7 separate regions of the Homo sapiens genome follow, and all the other regions are linked to region 3. The links are contacts of gene promoters, found by promoter capture Hi-C in blood cells and fetal thymus (Javierre and others, 2016). All regions are on one chromosome and are shown on one strand. The core of a region is centred on a gene start or on the middle of the fragment in contact, and the rest is flanking DNA. Distances in the headings are between cores, read along the strand shown. Region 1 overlaps STON2 (stonin 2). Region 2 overlaps STON2 (stonin 2). Region 3 holds the start of TSHR (thyroid stimulating hormone receptor). Region 4 has its middle 17 kb from the start of STON2. Region 5 has its middle 11 kb from the start of LINC02308. Region 6 overlaps STON2 (stonin 2). Region 7 overlaps CEP128 (centrosomal protein 128).

Region 1 (2,901 bases), core at 110-2,609, 310 kb before region 3:
ACGTGGAAAAGCCATATTTTTCTAATGTTGGGAACATTATATTCTGATTCCAAGAGTCAGAACGCTCACTCCATCTTCTTTTTCTTCATCTGTTTCTGGGACAATTAATCTTCTTTTCCTTCATCCGTTCCTACTCACCTCTGCTTCTTATTTGTATCTTAGTGTTTTCTCCCATGAAGAATACAAGTCGGGGGACAGAAAGCACACTTCATTGGATTTGTAGATGATGCAGAAATGAAAAATATCTCCAGTTTTTGGCTGATGGATTCAAGATTAATGTATTCAATGAACAATCATTGGAGTCTAAATGTGTATTGACACTGGGATATAGAAATAGTTACAGTATTTTGAAATATCTGAACTAAGACTGAAAGTAAAATGATGATTGAATAGGCATTAATGAGAAACCCTATATTCTGGGTTTTTAAAATGCAACCCTCTAAGTACAGAGTGGAGTGTGTGTTTGTGGATGTGTGTGTTTGTGTGTGTTTATGTGTGTGGTGTTGATGGGAACGGTGTTAGGAAGACCTGGTTTCACGGTAGTTTATAGAGAAATATTTCCTTACAGAAATGGAGGTTCAATGTTGAATCAGAAATATATCATGGCTATTCACAAAGCTAATGTAGTCAGCTGGTGTTAATAAAAGCCTTACATGCTTTTATTAACCCTCCATCTAGTCCATATCTAAATGGAGGGTTGAGTTCAATTATGGGTATCATATTTTAAGAGAGACATTAATAAGTTGATTGTGTCCATAGGGAGGTGACCAGGGTTGTAAAGGGTCTGATGATGCAAGAACAAGGGAGTAGCTTCCCTGAAGGAACAGAAGGTATAGCTGGAAAGGGAGTGCAGACAAGGAGGGAATGATACAATAGCTGCCTAGAAATTTCTATTGAGCTATGAAAAGGAAGAGGAATTAGATTTATTCTGTGTAGCTTCAAAGGGCAAAAATAAGAACAAAGAGGAACTTTACAGGTGACAAATGTTTGCTTCAATATAAGGAAGAATTGTCTAATAAGAGTTGTTCTAAAGAGGAATAGACTCAAGTTAGTAAGATTTCCTGTTCCTGTGAATGCCCAACAGTTAAAATAACCACCTATCCCACGTGCTGTGAAAGGGAATCTTACATTGGATTTGGTCTATATGTCTACCAAGATTCCTTCTAAATATAGGTTTAGTCTCAATAGTAATAAGACTCTCTAACTTCATTTGTCTTTTTCTTCATAAGTGGTTTTTCATGCTCTTTGAAATACAGTGGAGTTCCTTTGAGGTTTTTGTCAAGGAATTTCAACGCATATCTCTTCCCCTGTTGTACTGAAGGCTTTTGAGATTAATTCCTCATAGAACATCTAAATGGATTGGAGAGTTGGCAAGGGAAATGAAGCTCATCCCAGCACCTTCCTTAGTCACTCACGCTTAGCACTCTGTCAAGATCTCTGCCTCATCTGCTAGCATAACATGTGGATTGCTTGTTGGAGCTTATTTCCCCGCCCCCCATGGTAAATTCTCATTTCCTGTGTACATGCACCTGGACTTTTTTGTTTTTTTTACCAAGAGTTGGGAAAAATCCCTTCTATGCTATCTATATTCTGCAAACAAATTATTATTATTATTATTATTGAGACAGAGTATTATTATTATTATTATTATTATTATTACTGAGACAAAGTTTCGCTCTTGTCGCCCAGGCTGGAGTGCAATGGCGTGATCTCGGCTCATTGCAACCTCTGCCTCCCAAATCTCCTGCCTCAGCCTCCTGAGTAGCTGGGATTACAGGCGCCTGCCACCATGCACCACTAATTTATGTATTTTTAGTAGAGATGGGGTTTCACCATGTTGGCCAGGCTGGTCTCGAATGTCTGACCTCAGGTGATAAGCCTGCCTCAGTCTCCCAAAGCTCTGGGATTACAGGCGTGAGCCACCATGCTGGACCCACAAATTATTATTAATTTTTAAAAACCTAACATCTTAATTTCATCAAATTTGTTTTCCCTCTACTGTTTTTAGGAAACTGATTATGGGTAGCATTTAGGGGTTTGGGGATAATAATACTATATATTTTTAGACGTAATGAGTGTTTTACTAGGTTTAAATAACTTCTAAAGAAAATACAAGTGGGCAAATTAGCTATGTAATAACCTACATAGAAAACAGTTGGGCAAATTACCTGTGGATATGCAGATTCTACTTTTGCAACCCTGGACCTGGACTTTTTATTTTTTTTTTTTGTGGTCACAAATAATCTTTGTTATCAATAATGTGAAAATATTAAAAATGAATTCATTTTACCAGTACATAGTATTACTCTTAGAACATAAATTAGATATCACGTGGTATCAAGAGCTGTGCTTTCTTTTGAGTCTAGGGCCTGCTTTTTGACTTTACAGCAAAAAGATAAGAAATGTACTCATGACATGTCAGACAAGACAATGTGAGGCACTTTGTGGGGAGACCATTAGATGATCCCCCTTGCCTGCTCTTGCAGACATAGTACTAGTTATTCCTTATCAAAAGTTTGCATTTCATTCATATTAAATATTATCTGGACAGTTTCATTTTTTCTATTTGGCTCTTCCCTTACTGTGCCTTCCTGCATTATTGGCAGGGTTCATAATCCTTGAGAACATTGTTTGATTTAAAATATTTTTTATTTGAAATGAGACTGATTTCTATTCAAATCCAGTGGCTGGGAGTAAGAGTTTATTTCCCTAGAAACTTATGTTTCTGATAAATGGGATCCATGAAGGCAAGGACTATATATAATTTTTTGTGTTTCCAACACCTAGCACAAAGCTTGGAATATAATAGGGTTCAGCCACCTTAAATGCTTGCCAGGAGGGCAAACGTATACTCATGAAATAAAGGAAAATGAGTATGTATTCAATAAATGTTTGCTGAAA
Region 2 (2,990 bases), core at 208-2,707, 430 kb before region 3:
CAAGGAATGCCGGCAGCCACCAGAAGCTGCAAGATACAAGAAACAGATGCTTCCTTAAAGCCTCTGCGGGGAGTGCAGTTCTGCTGACATCTTGATTTTAGCACAGTGATTCTCATCTCAGACTCTGGCTTCCAGAACTGTGAGAGAATAAATTACTGTTGTTTTGAGATACCAAGTTTGTGGTAATTTGTTACAGCAGCCATAGGAAACTAATGTACTAAGTCTGTAAAATCTTAAAATGGAACCCTTTGCATAAGGCTGAGAATGAGTCAGTCTGAATTAGGGGAGCATCTGTAAATCTGTAATGATGCAGGACTTTTTGTTTGTTTGTTTGTTTGTTTGTTTTTTGTTTTGTTTTTTGAGACGGAGTCTCGCTCTGTTGCCCAGGCTCTGGAGTGCAGTGGCGCGATCCCAGCTCACGATGCAGGGTATTTCTTAAGGAGATGTGTGCATGTCAGTGTGCTTTGTCCCTAAACCTTACAGCTCCTTATAATTTACTCATTGAGTCACCAGATATTTACTAAGCACTTCCTCTGTATAGTTCTGCTAGGTGTGGATATTCAAAGACATAGCGCAGTGCTCAGAATTGAGCAGAAATCCACTGGGCTTCTTCCTGGATCCTCTAGTAGCAAACCAGAGCCAACCTGTGCTGCTGTGATTACCATCTCTTGCGGTTGTCTTTCAACCACTACTTGTCTTTCTGTTTTTAAGTTTTTCTTTTTTTTTTTTTTTGAAATGGAGTCTCACTCTGTCACTCAGGCTGGAGTCCAGTGGCGCAATCTCAGCTCACTGGGTTCAAGTGATTCTCCTGCTTCAGCCCCCAAATAGCTGGGATTACGGCGTGTGCCATCACATCCAGCTAATTTTTGTATTTTTAGTAGAGATGGGTTTCATTATGTTGGCCAGGCTGGTCACAAACTCCTGACCTCAAATGATCGGCCCACCTCGGCCTCCCAAAGTGCTGGGATTACAGGCATGAGCCACCATGCCTGGCCTACGTTTTTCATTTCATACAGCTGAGAATTTGAAACTGGCTCTGAGGAAGCAAAGGAATAAGTGGATGCTGGGAGAATTACTTGTCTGAGAAGTTCATTTTATGACAGGTGCATCTATTGTCTCTTCCTGTGAAGGATGAAAATCAGAATTTAAAGCAACTTCCCTTGTTAATTATCGTTTACTTCTGGGGCTTCCCCACAGCTCTTACTCAGTTTTATCCAGTTTTCCTCACTTGGAGAAAGTAGGCACTACTGACCTAGGAGAAACTTTTGTCTAAATTGGCCACCTAGCTGTGGGCCAAGTAGTGGCCAGTTTGCTGGCGGCTAGGTGACCAGCTTAGACAAAATGGCCCTCTCGTGCTTTTTGTCTAAACTGACCACATAGAAATGATTTGCCCATCAATTTCTCATTTATCCACTCTAAAATGCTTTTCTTAGTTCATTAATTTCCATCAGTCAGATGTTAGATCTATTTTGGGCTATAGCTTCACTCATGTAGACTGAGCAAACTCTTTTTAGCATGGATAACGCAAGAATGAAATGGAATTAGGGCAAGAGAGGTGTTTGGTGTGCTGTATTTAAATGCAAAAATTTGGAATCTTTGGTGAAGTTTGGAGTATGTAGGTGTGTCTCTGTGCGTGCAAGAAAAAAATTTCAGCCAGGAAAAAAAGGAACAGTGGAAACTAATTTTTGGCTTTAGCCCTTTTCCCAATCACATCAGCATCACTGGAGCAAACTGACTCTTTCCTATATATAATGTATAGTTGCAGTGTTTAATTTCTTCCCATTTTACTCTTCATATTCCATTTACTTCTATTAAGAGCCCATACTTTCTGATCGGATGTCTTCATGTTGGGAGAGATGTAAAAATGTTTATCTTGGTACCTGTCTTGTGCAACCCCTCTGTGGATGTTGTTTTGTGAGAAGGTCGTAAGAGAAAAAGGTGGTGGGAGGAGAAGGAGGAGGAGAAGTAGAACTGATCAGTGTTCTTCCTAGTTTTAATTTCTGGAAGAAAAAGTGAAACCTTACTTAGCCAGCTGTTTTATACCTGAACATCCTGGCTTGTAGAGAGAAGTTGGGAAAGAGACTAGCACACACACATAACACACACAGAGGAAGTAGCGAGGTTATCCGGGATATTCCTTTTCCATCCCCCAATTCCCTTTCTTCCACTCTTTGAAGTTTTTCTGGCAGATGAAGAGTAAAAATCAAAAGAATACATCTTTTAAACTGTGCCACCTAAGAATAAAGCCAAGCGAGCATTGGACTTCAGCCTGGAATTGGAATGTACTATTTGCCCTAATTAAAATGCAACAAGGCTGTAGGCACAGTGGAGTTAGGGACAAAGAGACTGTCATTAATGGTACGTCTCTTATTTTTGATGGTATTTAAATGGCTAGAAGCTGCACTGAGAACCTTAGAGAAGCCAGGGAGTTGTTAGTCCCCACCCTAGTGACCTGGCTGCTACTTATTTTATTGTGCACTGAAGCATACCAAGGTTGATTGGAAAACCAGGAGCAACAGCTGGTAGGAAAAACAACTCCAGAAATGCTTAAATCATCAAGGCAACAACTTTCTCTTGGACTTTAATTAGGGCAGGGTTTGAAGTGAATAAGTGCCATCACGGTTGGCCAGGGAAAAAAGGAGATATACAGTCTCCCTTAGAAACATATGATTAAAATTGGTCAGGTGCGGTGGCTCACGCCTGTAATCCCAGCACTTTGGGAGGCCAAGGCAGGCGGATCACAAGGTCAGGAGTTTGAGACCAGCCTGGCCAACATGGTGAAACGCCATCTCTACTAAAAATACAAAAATTAGCTGGGTGTGGTGGTGGGTGCCTGTAGTCTCAGCTACTTGGGAGGCTGAGGCAGGAGAATCGCTTGAACCTGGGAGGCGGAGGTTGCAGTGAGCCAAGATTGTGCCACTGCACTCCAGCCTGGGTGACAGAGTGAGACTCCATCTCAAAAAAAAAAAAAAAAAAGAAAAGAAATAAAA
Region 3 (3,079 bases), core at 286-2,785:
GGCCAGAAAGTGGGAAGAAAGGCAAGGGCAGCTGTAACAGCAGGGACCTTTGGGGAAGTGCCAGAAGTTCTCAGCAGGAGGGGGAAGTTAGAGAAATGAGGAGCAATGAGGTTGGAAAGACTTGACTAGGTCTTGAAAGATCTGGTAGGCTGCACAAAAGAATTTTATTCTAGAGGTGACAAGCAACCTATGTAGAGGTGTAATCAAGAGGCCATTACACCTTTTACACATCTTATTCTGTGGTGGCAGCATGGAGAATGACTACCACACTGTTTGGAGGTTATTGAACTAATTAATTCAGGTGTGCTAAGACACTAGGATATCTCTGAGCACAGAAATATATCTCTGTGCTCAAATATTCATCTACTGTTAAATAGTCTTCATGAGCTAAATTCTTGAGAAAATCTAGAGGTGCAACTTTCCCATTTCTTTTCATCTATCAACATTTTCTTTAATAACCTGCATTTTTTTTTATCTTAACTGGATTTAACCAGCCTAGGTTGTTTTACTGTCCTTTCTTTCTGTTCTCTTTTTAACTAATCAAGACAGACTTTATTCCCTTGGTTTTGTCTACAATTTCAATGATCACTGATTTAAATTGCTGTTAAGAAACAGGTTGTGTGTGTATAATCTTATTTAACATCAGGTTTCTAATCTGGTAACATTTAACATGCAGATAAATGTACTATACTTTTATGAAATTTCATTTCTTTATACCTCTATCACAAAGCAGGGTTCTGGACGTACTATTTCACTGGCAGTTCACATTTGAGTAAGTAACTTACAGATACTGTATAGACAGTTCATTTTAAAAAGGGCCCCTGCTTAAACCTTTGTCAACAATTTGATGAATCAGCAGAACTGCTAAGATAACCTCCCATCTAGAGAAACAAAAAGGAGAAATACATATTTTTGCAATTTTTTATTACCCAAGGTAAGATCAAAAAGGTCAGTTCCTGAGATGCCATTATCCTTATTAATTCAAATAAAACAGATTCAACCAGGGTTAGGCAAAGTGCTGAATAGCAGCTTGTTGGAAAGAACAGCTCTCACGGTCATTGTACACCAAAGTTTTGTAACATTTTCCTGTGTTGGGAATGAGGATGTCAACAATGATACCTTCCCAAGTGTGGGCGATTAAGTTTTTAGCACACACACACATCTACACACACAGACATTCACTCACACATACACACACTCACACACTACTTCGGGCTGTTATTGAGCTGCTTTTGTGCACTTCGGGCCACCTCTGCAGATGCCCTTGATCTCTGGGTCCTACCCTGATCTCTCCCGGGTACTCACAGAGTCTGCGTACTGGGCGGTAAGCTGGGGATGCGTTGAATATCCTTGCAGGTGACTCTGAAGTCCTCCTCCTGATGGCACTCGCAGGGTGGAGACGAACACCCCATTCCGCCCAGGTCCCTGGGCAGGTCGAGCAGCAGCACCAGCTGCAGCAAGTCCGCCGGCCTCATTTTCCACGGGACTCGGGGCTATTTCTCCATCCTCCGAAATCGCCTCATTCTCAGCTCTGCACCTCGGGTTACCCCAGGCCAAAGGAGACCCGGGAGCGGGAGGGGTGGGAAGAGGGAGGGCTCCAAGGGGCTGTGACCTCACCACTGTGGAGGAGGCTGGAGAAGGGGAAAAAGAGGCACTTAAGTGCTCCGCTTCCCTAGGCAACCTTGACCCAAACAAGTCTGCTTGCTTCACTTTCCTTGGCTGGACCCACGCAGTCCGCTCCGTCTGTTCCCTGACACCCAACACCAGTCCTGGCTGTCCCCTCTGTTTTCCAGCCCGCCCCCCCACCCCGGGCGCCCCTCCCATTAGTTCTCTCCAAAGCCTAGTTTAGATGCCCCCTCCTTTCCTCCTCTTTAAATCCAAGGAGCCACCTTCCCTAGCGTGTAGCCTTCTAGACACCCTGTCTGCCTGGGAGCCACTCGCACGCACTCCTTATCCAGAGAAAGTCCCCGCGGAGTGGACTGTCCGCGGGCGGACCAATGTCCTGCAGAACTTCAGCTCCTCCTGGCCAGAGACACCTCTGCTGAGGGTCAGAGGCGGGCACGCAGCCCTGGCTAGCCCGCGGTGCGGCCGAAGCCGTCGCCCTGCACCCCTGGAGGATTCTCGTTGCTATCCAACTGCAGGGGCCACTCCGGTGGTTGAGTCGACTGGCAGCGGCCGCCTCACGTTGCAGCCCGCGGCTCCGCGAGGCAATTCAGGAACTGAACTTTGGGGCCATCTGCTGGGAAGAATCGGGAATGGCAGAAATAATTCCAGGTTCCCTTAATAATGGGTCCAGTATGGAAATTCTGGTCGACCCAAGAATTTCATTGAGTCATATTCCCCCTGGAAGATGGGAAGAAAAATAATACTTAAGTGGCATACTCACCATTCTTCGCACAGTAGCCAAAAAGATCATTACAAACATAAATCAGATTGTGCCTATTTCCTTCTTAAAAGTCTTCAATCACTTATTCCTCTTGGGATAAAAGGAATGTCAATTCCTTCTATACTGCATAATTCCTTTTATATGAACTTGGCTAGGACAGGAAGGAAAAAGTTGTGGTTATGGGAATCAGAATAAAGGTTAGGAAAGATTGACTAGAAAAAGACAGGAGGGAACACACAGGGTTTCCATATCGTAATTAGGCTGGAGGTTAAGTGGATGTATACATTTATCAAAATTCATTAAACCGTACATTTAAAATATGTGTATTCCAAATTTTACAGAAGCTTTATTCATAACCACTAAACGAACCAAGTGTCTCGCGACTAGATAATGGATAAACAAACTCTGATACCTCCACATTGGAATACTATTCTGCAATAAAAATGAATGAACTGCTGATACAACATGCACAAATTTTCTTTTCTTTTTTTTTTTCTTTTGAAACGGAGTCTTGCTCCGTCGCCCAGGCTGGAGTGCAATGGCGCGATCTCGGCTCACTGCAACCTTTGCCTCCGAGGTTCAAGCAATTCTGCTGCCTCAGCCTCCCGAGTAGCTGGGACTACAGGCGCCCGCCACCACGCCCGGCTAATTTTTTCGTAATTTTAGTAGAGACGGGGTTTCACTGTGTTAGTC
Region 4 (2,797 bases), core at 52-2,551, 460 kb before region 3:
TGGGTTTATTATTAACTCCTTGCAATCAAGCTTCCAGTTCAGCTGTTCTACTTTATTCTACAAATGCTTGTCGCTTTCTGATACAGTTTGGCTGTGTCCCCACCCAAATCTCATCTTGAATTCCCACGTATTATAGGAGGGACTTGGTGGGAGGTCATTGAATCATGGGGACAGGTCTTTCCTGTGCTGTTCTCATGACAGTGAATAAGTCTCACAAGATCTGATGGTTTTATTAAGAGGAGTTCCCATGCACAGGCTCTCTCTCTTTGCCTGCTGCCATCCATGTAAGATGTGACTTGCTCCTCCTTCCCTTCTGCCATGATTGTGAGGCTTCCCCAGCCATGTGGAACTGTAAGTCCAGTTAAACCTTTTTCTTTTGTAAATTGCCCAGTCTTGGGTATGTCTTTATATGAAAATGGACTAATACACTTTCCTTCTGTGTAATGGCTCTGAACACTAGAAATGCTGCCAGGAAGGGTCCATCCCTCCAGAAGCTAAACTCTGCAAGCTTTCTCAAGTCACCAGCGACCACTCAAGGCCCTTTATGTCTCTCCTCAGCATTTGACACTAGAGAAAACTTCTTTTTCAAAATTCCCTCTTGCCATCATAGCCTGGAGCCCTCTGGTTTTTCTATCTCTCTCTCTGCCTGGCTCTGTCACCCGAGGGTCTAACTTCCCCCGTCCCAGCCCCACTCCCTTATGTAGGCATGCTCCAAGAGTCAGTCATCTTCTTCTATCTTTTTACTTCCCCTGTTGATAACCTATTCATTCCCTTGGCTGCATACTTTGTTTTTTCTTGGATGACTCTAAAATCTAACTTTTCACCCGTAATTTTTCTCTAGGCACCAAATCTACATTTTCACAGTCTTTGCATCTCAACATATCCCAAAAACGTATTTCCTATCCTGTCTCCAATTAATTGCACAGTTTAAGGGACCACTCCTAGTTTCCTTAGGGTATGTATTGAGGTCTTCTCTGCCCTTACCTCAGATACTATGGCACTACTATTCTCCTATCACCCAAGCTTAATTGTTATTTCCTATCACTGTTGTTTCTTCTATTCTGTTGAGTAAAGAACAAGACCAAGGATTCCTGTGGCTATAAGGTGTTTTCTCTACTTTCATCTTTTTGCCCAGTTAAGGTTTTCTCCTGAACATTCAACATTTCTTTGCTTTTCTACAGTGTGGATGGTGATGTGGGAGGGCCTGTGCTGTTGCAGAGCTGGGGGCCGGGGGCGGGGCGGTGAATAGCTCTAGGGGCAGCGTCAGATAAGAGAACGTGGTTTTTGTCGCATTGTGTGAATGGCACCTCCTGGAGTTGTGCAACACAGTGCTGTGGGAGTGTAAGCATGCAAGGGATGGAGTGTCAGTGAGTCCTTTTGGGATGCTAAAGACTTGAGTGGCAGGAACAAGTTGAGGGGAGTTGGCAGTTCAACCCACAAGGAAAGTTTGATTTTTACAAAAGAGGAAGGGGGAAATAGTTTTTCCTCTGCGTCATCTACCTGGGAAATAAAACCCTATGTTTTTCTAGACAGATCTGCATTGAGCTGACTTCATTGTAGAGCTACCCACCAAGCTTGAGATTTGTGGCCTGGAGCTCTGTTTTCCTCTAATCCTTGTTATTCTTGGTATAGAGAGTGTTGGCAGGAGCTTTAAACATAAAGGTTTTGTGTGCCTGCAGCTCTACTGATAAATTAGATAAAACCAGACCCTTATGTCACAACTGGACTCCCTTCGATATGGTTTTCCTATGGTCCAAAGAGGTTGGTCATAGCTTTGGTCACAGTGCTGCCTCCTGTTGACTGAAATGGCCCAGATGACTTGGCCACACCAGCAGTAGGACACCTTGGCTGACGATTATAGCAGCGGTGTCCTCTGTTCAGGGGCCTGTGGAGCACCCAGACAGGCAGGTTGCCACCTTCCACTGCACAGACTGTGTGGTACACACTCTTCGTGGGCATGGCTCACATAGATGACCATGGGAATGGGCCCTGAAGTTGTCCACTGTGTTGACCCTGCCTCCGGTACCTTCTCTCACTACTCATTTCTAGGCCAACTGATGCCTCGCATTGAGCCAGCTAGGCTCTTTCCTGTCTCAGGCTGAAGCTCACACCACTACTTCCTTTTTTTCCCGAAATTTCTAAGGTCTCCTCCTTCTTTGCACTTTCACTTCCTGAATGCCATGACCACAGGAATGAAATCAGCAAGTTCTTGTTCTCTCTCTTGACTAGGCTAACTCCTCCCAATCTTTATGGGTAGAAATAATAATGGTAATAGATAGCATTGACTGAGCGCTTATTATTCATGAAAAGGTTTACCTGCAGCATCTTACAGAATCTCTGAGGTAGATACTACTAGATGAAACTCAGGCGTAGAGCATTTCAGAGACAGAGATGTTCCATGGCTAGAGTTAACAACGGGGGACTTGGCCTGCTGCCCGAAGAGCTTGTGCTCTGAAGGGTATGCTAGGCATCCTCCTAAGACTCAGGTTAGATACAGCCTCTTCCAGGAAGCCTCCCCGGGCTCCCCACACCCTGCTTCTGACCTTTGGTCATGCTCCTTAGTAACCTGTGCTGTCATGCAAGCTCAGGGCCTCTCAGAGGTGGTGGAGAGAGACCTATGTTCCTTGCTTTTTCTGAGTTCTCAGAATATTAAAAACTGAAGAAGCTCCAAGACAGGATTAGAAAAATATTATGATTTTTTTGGATATATTTTCTTCTCTGATTGGACCAAATTAAAACCTTAAGTGTATAATCATATACATAGAAACCCACAATGTAATATAATTTTGCTATGTGC
Region 5 (2,993 bases), core at 327-2,826, 480 kb before region 3:
AGTGGATACAGGGTTGATCTGGGTGTGAGACATAAAGACACAGATTTACCCACACCCATGACCACCAGTATTCTTCCAAACTGCCGACTAAAATGGCGCTAGTCCTCCAAGCCAGCAAGAGCTGCACTGCTGTATTGGTAGCCTCTAACCACATGTGGCTATTTAAATTTCAACACAATTTAAAATTCAGTTCTTCAAATTGCACTAATCACATTTCAAGTGTCCAATAGCCACACATGCCTAGTGGCTTCCATATTAAATAGCTCAGATAAAGAACATTTCCATCATCTCAGAACATTCAGTTGAAAAACGCAGATCTAAAGAGTACATCTTCTCTGGGATGCTGAAGGTGGGAGCCACATTTAACTGCTTTTCACAGGCTTGGAAAAGTTCCTTTTCACTTTTAGCTACTATACCGTAGGATTTAACCAACACGTCCATTACTGATGGTTTCCACACTTTCAGAATGTATGTATTCTCAGAGAGCATGCAGTGAATTTTCTTTAACAATTCAGTGGTTTTTAGCACATTCACAAAGTTGTATAACCATAACCACTAATTACAGAACATTTTCATCACCCCAAAAAGAAAGTTCATAGCCATTAAGCAGTCACTCCTCATTTCCCCTTGGCAACCACTAATCTGCTTTCTGTCTCTGTGGATTTGCCTATTCTGAATATTTCATGTAAATAGAATCATACAGTGTGTGGCCTTTTGTTTCGGGCTTCTTTCACATAGCATGATGTTTTCTAGAGTTATCCATATTTTGGCTTTTATCAGTACTTCATTTATTTTATGCCTGAATAATATTCCATTATGTGGATATACAGTAAGTTCTCACTTATTGTCATTGATAGGTTCTTGAAACGGCAACCTTTAAGCAAAACAATGTATAAAAACCCCCAATTTTCCCATAAGGGAATTGACATAAACAAGAATAAAGTTCCTCCAGCACATTTCTGGTCACAAAAACATCACCAAACTGCTAAATAAAGAGCAAAAATCCTTCTAATATTAAATTTGGAAATAAATGTGAGCTATATGTACACTTTTAAAAGATTAATAAAAACAAGTAAGATAATTATTTGCCCCATTACTCCAGTTCAAGGTCTCAGGTGATTGGAGCCCATCTGGCTGCTCAGCACGCCAACAGGGAACCAGTCCCAAACAGGACATCATTCCATCGCAAGCCTCTCTCTCTCTCTCTCTCTCAGACACACACACACACACACACACACACACACACACACACACACACATCACTCTCATTCTGGGACAATTTAGACATGCCAATGAACCTAATGTGCACATCTTTGGAATGCAAAAGGAAACTGGAGTACCTGGAGAAAACCCATGCAGATGTGGGGAGAACATGCAAACTTTCAGCTGGGAGTTGATCTTTTTTTTCTCATCAACATCCTAATGAAACAACGTTATTGGAGGACCTTCTGTGCTATTTAATACATTTTGTTTATCTATCATTAATCGACGGGCGTTTGGGTGGTTTCTACCTTCAGCTATTATGAATAATGATGCTACGAACATTTGTGCACAAGTTTTTGTGTAGGCATATGCTTTCAGTTCTCTTGGGTGTATATCAAGGAATGGAATTACTGGGTCATATGGTAACTCTATGTTTAACTTTTTGAGAAATAGCAAAACTGTCTTGTAAATTAACTGCACCACTTCACCTTGTGTTCATTTAAAGAAGAGCTTATTCTTCTCTTGGCCTGACAGTGCTTGACACACAGAAACTACCTATTATTGTTGGATTGGATGGATGATCGCTTTGCTCCACACCAAATATCCTTCCAGTCTGGAACTGAAGAATGCCCTGTTGAAGACCACGATAGGGTGTGGCCCTAGTCTCCTTAATACCACCCTATTAGCCTGTCAGGGGTTTTCATCAGTCACTTCATGTTTATTAAGTACCTACTTAATTGGGGATACACTGATTGAGGATACATCGCTAAGTAATGCACAGTGTGCTAGTTAGAAAGATGGCCATTTGAGCAGATCACTAGAATGCTGTTGCTTATTGATGTTATGGGAATATAAGACCGGCAAGAGGTTCACAGCTTAGCCTGGGAGAATGAGTGAAGGCTTCACAGAGGAAAGAATATTTGAGTTTTGAGCACTAAGCAGTAGTCACCAGGGAAGAAATGCGATACAGGGGGCGAACTAAATAAAGCATTTTGCTAGAGACAGAGAACAGACCAAGACATAAGCAGTTCCTGGCCTCAGTAAGATTCCAAGGTAATGGAAGTAGAATTCAGGTTCTTCTTTCACTTGTCACTCTTCCTTCATTTGCCATCCTTTCACTTGTCATCCCTGGGCTGAGTTTAATGTGATGTGATGAGGGTTGAGCAGTTTGACAAACCATCTTGGGTCAGCTTGGTTCTCTGGCTGAAACAGTCCTTCTTCTTTGGAGTGATAGTTTGACCAATCCAAATGGAACTTCTGCTTTGGCAGAAGCCACAGCTATGGAAAGCCAGCAACCTGAATTATGGGCTGATGTCTCCATGTGCTTCCGATGCTTGGAGAGGGATGCCCATGAAAGAACTCTCCTCACACAGTCCACACCACCCCGTGCTCTGTCTGGTGTTCCTCCCAGGTGAGGTTCAACCCATGCGTGTCCACCTATTCAATATAAAGTGAATCAACTGAGGCCCGGCGCGGTGGCTTACGCCTGTAATCCCAGCACTTTGGGAGGCCGGGGCGGGCCGATCACTTGAGGCCAGGAGTTTGAGACAGCCTGGCCAACATGGTGAAACCCCGTCTCTACTAAAAATACAAAAATTAGCCGGGCGTGGTGGCACGTGCCTGTAATCCCAGCTACTCAGGAGGCTGAGGCATGAGAATAGCTTGAACCCGGGAGGCAGAGGTTGCAGAGAGCCAAGATCGTGCCACTGCACTCCAGCCTGGGCGACAGAGCGAGACTCCGGCTAAAAAAAAAAAAAAAAAAAAAAAATTGAAGTGAATCAAGTGTTTGT
Region 6 (2,817 bases), core at 9-2,508, 340 kb before region 3:
TTCCATCTTAACAATTTTGAGTTTTCAAATCCATGAACATGAAATCTCTCCATTTATTTAGGCCTTCTTTAACTTCTCTCAACAGTGAAGAGGCCTTACACATCTTTTATTAAGTTTACTTCTATGTAGTTGATATTTTTATGCTATAGTAAACAATATTTTTAGAGGTCTTATTTCCAGTTGACTTGTTACTAGTATTTTAATATATAATTGAGTTTTTAAAGAATGACTTTGTATCCTGAGGACTTGCTGTATTCAGTTTTACAATTATTTTTACTTTTGTTAAGAAGGTTGATAAAGGAAAAACTGAAAACAGCAACAGCCCAAAATGCTCATAAGTTAGCCACAGGGCTCAACCTCTTTCTTTTACTTTTTATTCCTTTTTCTTGCCTTGTTGCAATGCCTAAGGACTCCATTACAACGCTGAATAGGTGAGACTGGGAGGAACACTTTCAATATTTCACCATTGTGATGTTAGCTGAGGGTTTTCTTTTTGTATATGCCCTTTATCAGGTTGAGGAAGTTCCCTTCCATTCTTAGTATGGTGATAATAGTATTACTATTACAGTTAATGTAAGTTAAATTTTACCATACTTTTTCTACCTTTATTGAGATAGTCTCACATATATGTTTGTATAACACGTTAATTCTGTGCATGTATGGGTAACTTCTGCAATATTCCTGGTGGATGCAGAAGAGTTGCCTAAGACAAGCCCAGGCATGTGGTTTAAAGTGACCACCATGATTCTAGTACCAAATACAGTTTGGTGTCACTTGATCTGAGCCATGTGGCTAGAACTTATGAGTGTTTTGGGCTGTTGCTATTTTCAGTTTTTCCTTTATCAACCTTCTTAACAAAACAGATGTCTCTTATTTTGGTGGTAGAGGTGGGACTTTGGGTACTTTTTATGTCGTTCTCTTGTCTGTATTTTCTAAATTTCTTTAGTGACATGGATGAATTGTGTTTTAAAAAGTTTTAAAATTCTATATAATTAATTAGATTACAGATTAATACACTTCAAACACATTTCTACCAAGTCTTTCTAAAATTATATCCAACTCACCTTGCTTGGATATGGGTGTTTCTTAAATCTCTGAGAGCAACATATTCACAAACCATTTCGTGGTGGGTGACTAAGGATTTCTCTGTTGATCCTTTAATCATTTAATTTTAGAAGGTGCTCATTTTTTCATCTGTCCCAACTTCAGTTTCCTGGATGAAACTCCTAGCATGGTTCTGTTCAACATGCTTTTCTGTAGTTTCTCTTCCTTGGGAACTTACCAGAGCAGGAAAATAAACACCAACAGATTGTGTGTGTCATGACAGAGGTATATAGATCAGGGATTTCAGCCGCGCTTGGGAATTTAATGACTTGCAACAGATGGAGTCTGAGTCCAGGGTGACTTTGCTCAGGGGTAATTCTTAGTAAGTTTGGCTTTTAAATTCTGTGATTCCCCCCCCCCATCTGAAGCAGTTGAGGCTTTAGAGGCCTGGAGCTAGAGGAAGCCTCCCTCAGACTAGTCTGTGGATGACAGCCCTAGGATGTGGAATAGGGATTGGAGATAGACTGTTATTTCCAGCTGCTGTGCTTTGTTTTTGTGGAACAGGAAGTCATTATCTGGAGATTCACAATTTCTTGATAGCTCATTTCTCCTTCCTGGAAGGGCACCCGCATCTAGAATAGGCTTCATCGCTGGAATTATAGAGCCCCCACAAGGAGCTCTATTTGACTCCTTTTTTTCTTTCTAATTACAGATTCCTGATAGAAGGAATGTTTTCTCCTCTTTCTCAGTACTTAATGTGCATGGCAATAAATATCAGTTATTATTATTTTTCTTTTGAGACAGAGTTTTGCTCTTGTTGCCCAGGCTGGAGTGCAATGGCGCCATCTTGGCTCACCACAACCTCTGCCTCCCAGGTTCAAGCGATTCTCCTGCCTCAGCCTCCCGAGTAGCTGGGAGTACAGGCATGCGCCCCAAACCCATCTAATTTTGTATTTTTAGTAGAAATGGGGTTTCTCCATGTTGGTCAGGCTGGTCTCAAACTCCTGACCTCAGGTGATCTGCCCGTCTCGGCCTCCCGAAGTGCTGGGATTACAGGCGTGAGCCACTGTGCCCAGCTGGCCAGTTATTTTTATTACTTTCTATTGATTATTAAAGTTAGAAAGTTTTATACTATACGAAGCAAAACAAACCTCAAACCTCAAAATGAATGAATAAGTGCTCCTTGTCATTTTTTACCAGTAATAATGAAAATAATTTAAATCATATAGCATGCCATATTTTACAGTAGCATTCACATGTCTTATTTGGTCCTCACAACCATATTGTGGGGCATAGGAAATATCATTATCCTCCTTAAAAGTGAGGAAACAGACTCAGAAATTGAGAAATTTGCTCAAGATTGGACAGTTCTAACAATGTAGAGCTACAGTCCAAATGCTGCAGTATACCAGAGTGGTTAAGACTAAGGGTTGCCAACTCAGACCTCTTGGGTTCAGATCCTAGCTCTTCCTCTTACTAGCTTTGTAACTTTGGCCATGTCACCTAACCTCTGTGCCTTAGTGTCCCCCCTTACTAAAATAGAGGTAATGGAGACTTACCTCATACAGATGTCTCCTAGATCAAATGAGATCATTTTGGTATAGCTCTAGACAGACCAGCTGGCATACAGTACCTGGTTGGTGAGGGTCAGCCAGGCCACTACTTGTCTTGGAGGCAGCGGTGGTAGATTTTTATCTTTCCGTCCTTCCAGCTACCTCTCCTGCCTTGAAACCTGAAGTCAACTCCAGGAGTCACCAAAGTGCCTGACACACT
Region 7 (3,213 bases), core at 95-2,594, 350 kb after region 3:
TTTTTTGTTATTTGATGCTGGTATCTAGTTTGCTTTTTTTTTTCTTTAATAATTCATGGCAATGTAAGGTTCTTAATATTTTCTCTTTAGTCTTTGAATGTTTAATAAAGCTTAATTGAATAATTTAAAACAAAAGTGAAAACTCCTTATCTTATAGTTTTTCAAACATAATAGGTTCTCAATAAATATGTTTTACCATTAATCCCAAGATTTAAAACTAAAATGATACTTTAAAAGATTTACTGAAAAATACATAGAACTCTCAGTTCTATTCCTTTGCTGCACTGTTGCATGCTCCTATTTTTATATGTATCCTTCCAGGCATAACTTATACATATATGAGTAAATAAGAATGCATTTTTTTCTATTCATTTTTACCTAGATGATGGCATACCACCCGCTGTTCAATATCTTACTTTTTACTTACCATTTCTTGGAGATTTCTCTATATTAATGTATAATGAACTTCCTCGTTCTTTTTTAATAACTATGTAGAAACTCCATCGTATGAATATAATTTATTTAACAAGTTTCCCTACTGATTTAAATTTAAGATGCCTTCAGTTTTTGCTGTAACACTGCAGTGAATAATAACATGCATAAGTCATTTTGCACTAGTGAAAGTATGGCTGTGGAATGAATTCCTAGAAGTAGAATTGGTAAGTCAAAGAGTACACGGATTGTTAATTTTGGTAGGGTTTGTGTAATGTTCTCCCATAAGGTACTGATTTATGCTCTTACTAAGAGTGAATGAAAATATGTTTTCCCATATAATACCAATATTGTGTTCATGCTTTTTACTTGATTGTTAAACCAAAGGTTTGATCCTCATATTATGTGTTAATATTTAAGGTTCAATATTGATGAAAATATCCCATGAATTATAGTTTTTAGTATTTATAAAACAGTACCACACTTAGCAATCTATGTCTCTTACTACATGATATGTTACTGTTTATACCTCTTCTAAGTTATCAAAACATAAAACAATGTTAAATTAGTGATAGTAGTAAATAATCAGACAGATGATAAAAACAGTAGCATTCCTAGATATATACTCAAACATATACAGAGCTTAGTTCCCAGTAAGATTTTATTTCAAATAAGTGGGGGAAAGATTGATAATTCTATAAATGGTTTTGACCAATAGACATTTATTTGGAAAAAAAGAGATAAAGTATGATTCATACTGCGCTGCTTTCAGCAGAATAAATTTCAGATGAAAGTTTTATATATTATTTTTAAAAATGGGTATATAACGTGCTACCATTTATTAAAGGGAGATGACTGTATGCATGCACACACACATAGCATAATCATAAACAAGTACACTGAGATGGAAATAAAATTTAGACAGTGGTAATAGAAGTTGACTCTTGAGGGTACCTGAGAGATGGGCAGTCAGTGTTGAGTACTGGAGAGTGAAGAATGTTTTTCACTGTGAACATTTTTTTTTCCAACTGTGTGATTTTTTTTTGACTCACATACATATATAATTTTAAAAAAAAAGAAATCAGTACTTGTATCTCATTTTAGTCCAAAAAAAATGAGTTCAGGTGTTTCCTTCTTATTGCATTCTTTCCAAACGGACTGATTTCTCCAAAAGATGGAGTGTTTTGCTATTTTTGCCTGCTGTTTACATTGAGGTTAACTCTGTTGGTTAGGGTGTACTGGTAATGACACCAATGACATGGGTTTTATTTCCATGTGGTTCAGTTAACTTTGGTTTTCCACTGCCACAGACTGCTCCAATAATTATGGCTAAAATGTGTTCTTGGCCCAAGGGAGACCTGATGAAGCAAAGTGCAAATCCATCACCATGTGGGAAAATGGACACCCAAATACCCAGTGGATGGGGGTGGGGGCCAGAGGGAACCATAATAATGGGATCCCTAAATTCACATCTTAATAATATAAAATTCCTTATATACATGCAGTGAACTTCAAGATATCTAACTTAATGTTTTGGTTTTAAAAGGTTCAAAGTCAGTCACAGACAAGGAAGCTCAGTTTATAGGCAAATCTTGAAATATTAACCAAGGTTACTTTTTGGAAAAAAAAAATGAGTCATGCCTAGCCCTTCCCAATTACATAATATTTACTTATCCAAATGCTTTTACTGAGTTTAAAATATCTCAGCTTTATATTTGAAATTACATATAACAAATATTTGATTATGTGGTTTATTGAAAATGAAAGCTCTACTGTAGAAATTTATAATCTTAGTCTTTGCAGTATCATTAGTATGTCTCTAATAGTCCCAAGTCATGGTTCAGAAATCTCTCAAATCTCAAAAAATGTAATATACTTCAATCTTCAATATACATTTTTAATATGCATTCCTATAGTCAATATTTATTAAGTGTTTACTGGTTCCAGGTACTGTGTTGAATAAGTGCAAAGAGATGCCTGGTGGTTCCCAAAGAGCTCTCAATTAATAGGGGAGGGAGATCAGGTAAATAAGAAAACCATTATTATTTTTAGAAATAATGTGACAGTGCTGTGTTAAAGCAAGGCACAGGGTACTGACTGTGAGAGCAATTACTAACAGTATCTAACCCCACGTGGGAAAGCTTTGCTGGATCCTGAAGGACAAGTAAGAGTTAGCCAGGGTAAACAGGGTAGGCAGGGCATTCCAGGCAGAAGAAACAGATGTAGATTTAGAGGTTCAAGAGAGCATGATACATTTAAGAGCTGCAAATAGTTTAGTGTGATCAGAATTTAGAATATGGAAAGGGATGGTGAAAGGTGAGACTGGAAAATTAAACAGAGTTGAATCCATGAGAAGCTTTTTGGGTCCTGCCGGGAATGTAGATTATAGTCTAAAAGCAATGGGAAATGATTGATTTTAAGCAAGACTAGCTTGGTGTTAGAGGACAGTAAGAGTGTAAAATGAGATGTTGTCTGTGTTGTATAAAGTTCAATTTTACATTAGCAGGAAGAATAGAATTTGAGTCATTTATTCAGCATGTATTACTGAGCACTTCCTATGTGCCCAGCACTTTTCTAGGTGCCTGAGTTATTTAGTTCCTGAACAAGTATCTCAAGAACATTATGGTGCTTACATCCTAGTGGAGGCGAAAAGACAAAACAATTAAACAAATATATAGATAATGTTCTTCATGTCAAAAAGTACTATGAAGAAAATCAAAGCAGAGTAAGGTAGAAGGGACACATGTGGGTGCTGGTGCTGACTTTACATCGTTTTAGATC

The links. The method cuts DNA at HindIII sites, captures the fragments that hold promoters and counts their contacts. A CHiCAGO score of 5 or more calls a contact.
Region 1: a contact is called between a fragment that was not itself captured here and the fragment with the promoter of TSHR in region 3, in 16 of 17 cell types (fetal thymus, non-activated CD4 T cells, activated CD4 T cells and 13 more). The highest score is 12.6, in fetal thymus.
Region 2: a fragment that was not itself captured here is called in contact with the fragment with the promoter of TSHR in region 3 in 2 of 17 cell types (neutrophils and monocytes); the score reaches 5.2 in neutrophils.
Region 4: a contact is called between a fragment that was not itself captured here and the fragment with the promoter of TSHR in region 3, in 3 of 17 cell types (monocytes, non-activated CD4 T cells and neutrophils). The highest score is 8.4, in monocytes.
Region 5: a contact is called between a fragment that was not itself captured here and the fragment with the promoter of TSHR in region 3, in 12 of 17 cell types (fetal thymus, total B cells, non-activated CD4 T cells and 9 more). The highest score is 12.8, in fetal thymus.
Region 6: a contact is called between a fragment that was not itself captured here and the fragment with the promoter of TSHR in region 3, in 2 of 17 cell types (total CD8 T cells and neutrophils). The highest score is 6.1, in total CD8 T cells.
Region 7: a fragment that was not itself captured here is called in contact with the fragment with the promoter of TSHR in region 3 in 1 of 17 cell types (fetal thymus); the score reaches 5.5 in fetal thymus.

The regions. Positions count from the first base shown.
Region 1 is chr14:81,264,406-81,267,306 of GRCh38, reverse strand. STON2 (stonin 2) reads left to right here. Exons shown (of 8, transcript NM_001394390.1): 8 at 1-2,901. Among named protein-coding and RNA genes, the nearest start is that of GTF2A1-AS1, 45 kb to the right of the region's middle. The HindIII fragment of the contact is 2,875 bases long and covers 1-2,796 here.
Region 2 is chr14:81,387,936-81,390,925 of GRCh38, reverse strand. The region is part of intron 3 of STON2 (stonin 2); the gene reads left to right. Among named protein-coding and RNA genes, the nearest start is that of STON2, 11 kb to the left of the region's middle. The HindIII fragment of the contact is 5,426 bases long and covers 1-2,990 here.
Region 3 is chr14:80,954,077-80,957,155 of GRCh38, reverse strand. It overlaps TSHR (thyroid stimulating hormone receptor), which reads right to left and starts at 1,535. Exons shown (of 10, transcript NM_000369.5): 1 at 1,306-1,535. The coding sequence starts at 1,475. It also overlaps a transcript of CEP128 not described here. The HindIII fragment of the contact is 2,816 bases long and covers 1-2,732 here.
Region 4 is chr14:81,415,717-81,418,513 of GRCh38, reverse strand. It overlaps a transcript of STON2 not described here. Among named protein-coding and RNA genes, the nearest start is that of STON2, 17 kb to the right of the region's middle. The HindIII fragment of the contact is 551 bases long and covers 1,026-1,576 here.
Region 5 is chr14:81,437,831-81,440,823 of GRCh38, reverse strand. No RefSeq gene overlaps it. Among named protein-coding and RNA genes, the nearest start is that of LINC02308, 11 kb to the left of the region's middle. The HindIII fragment of the contact is 5,276 bases long and covers 1-2,993 here.
Region 6 is chr14:81,297,062-81,299,878 of GRCh38, reverse strand. All of the region lies in intron 5 of STON2 (stonin 2), which reads left to right. Among named protein-coding and RNA genes, the nearest start is that of GTF2A1-AS1, 77 kb to the right of the region's middle. The HindIII fragment of the contact is 3,420 bases long and covers 1-2,817 here.
Region 7 is chr14:80,608,119-80,611,331 of GRCh38, reverse strand. The region is part of intron 19 of CEP128 (centrosomal protein 128); the gene reads left to right. Among named protein-coding and RNA genes, the nearest start is that of CEP128, 330 kb to the left of the region's middle. The HindIII fragment of the contact is 2,463 bases long and covers 113-2,575 here.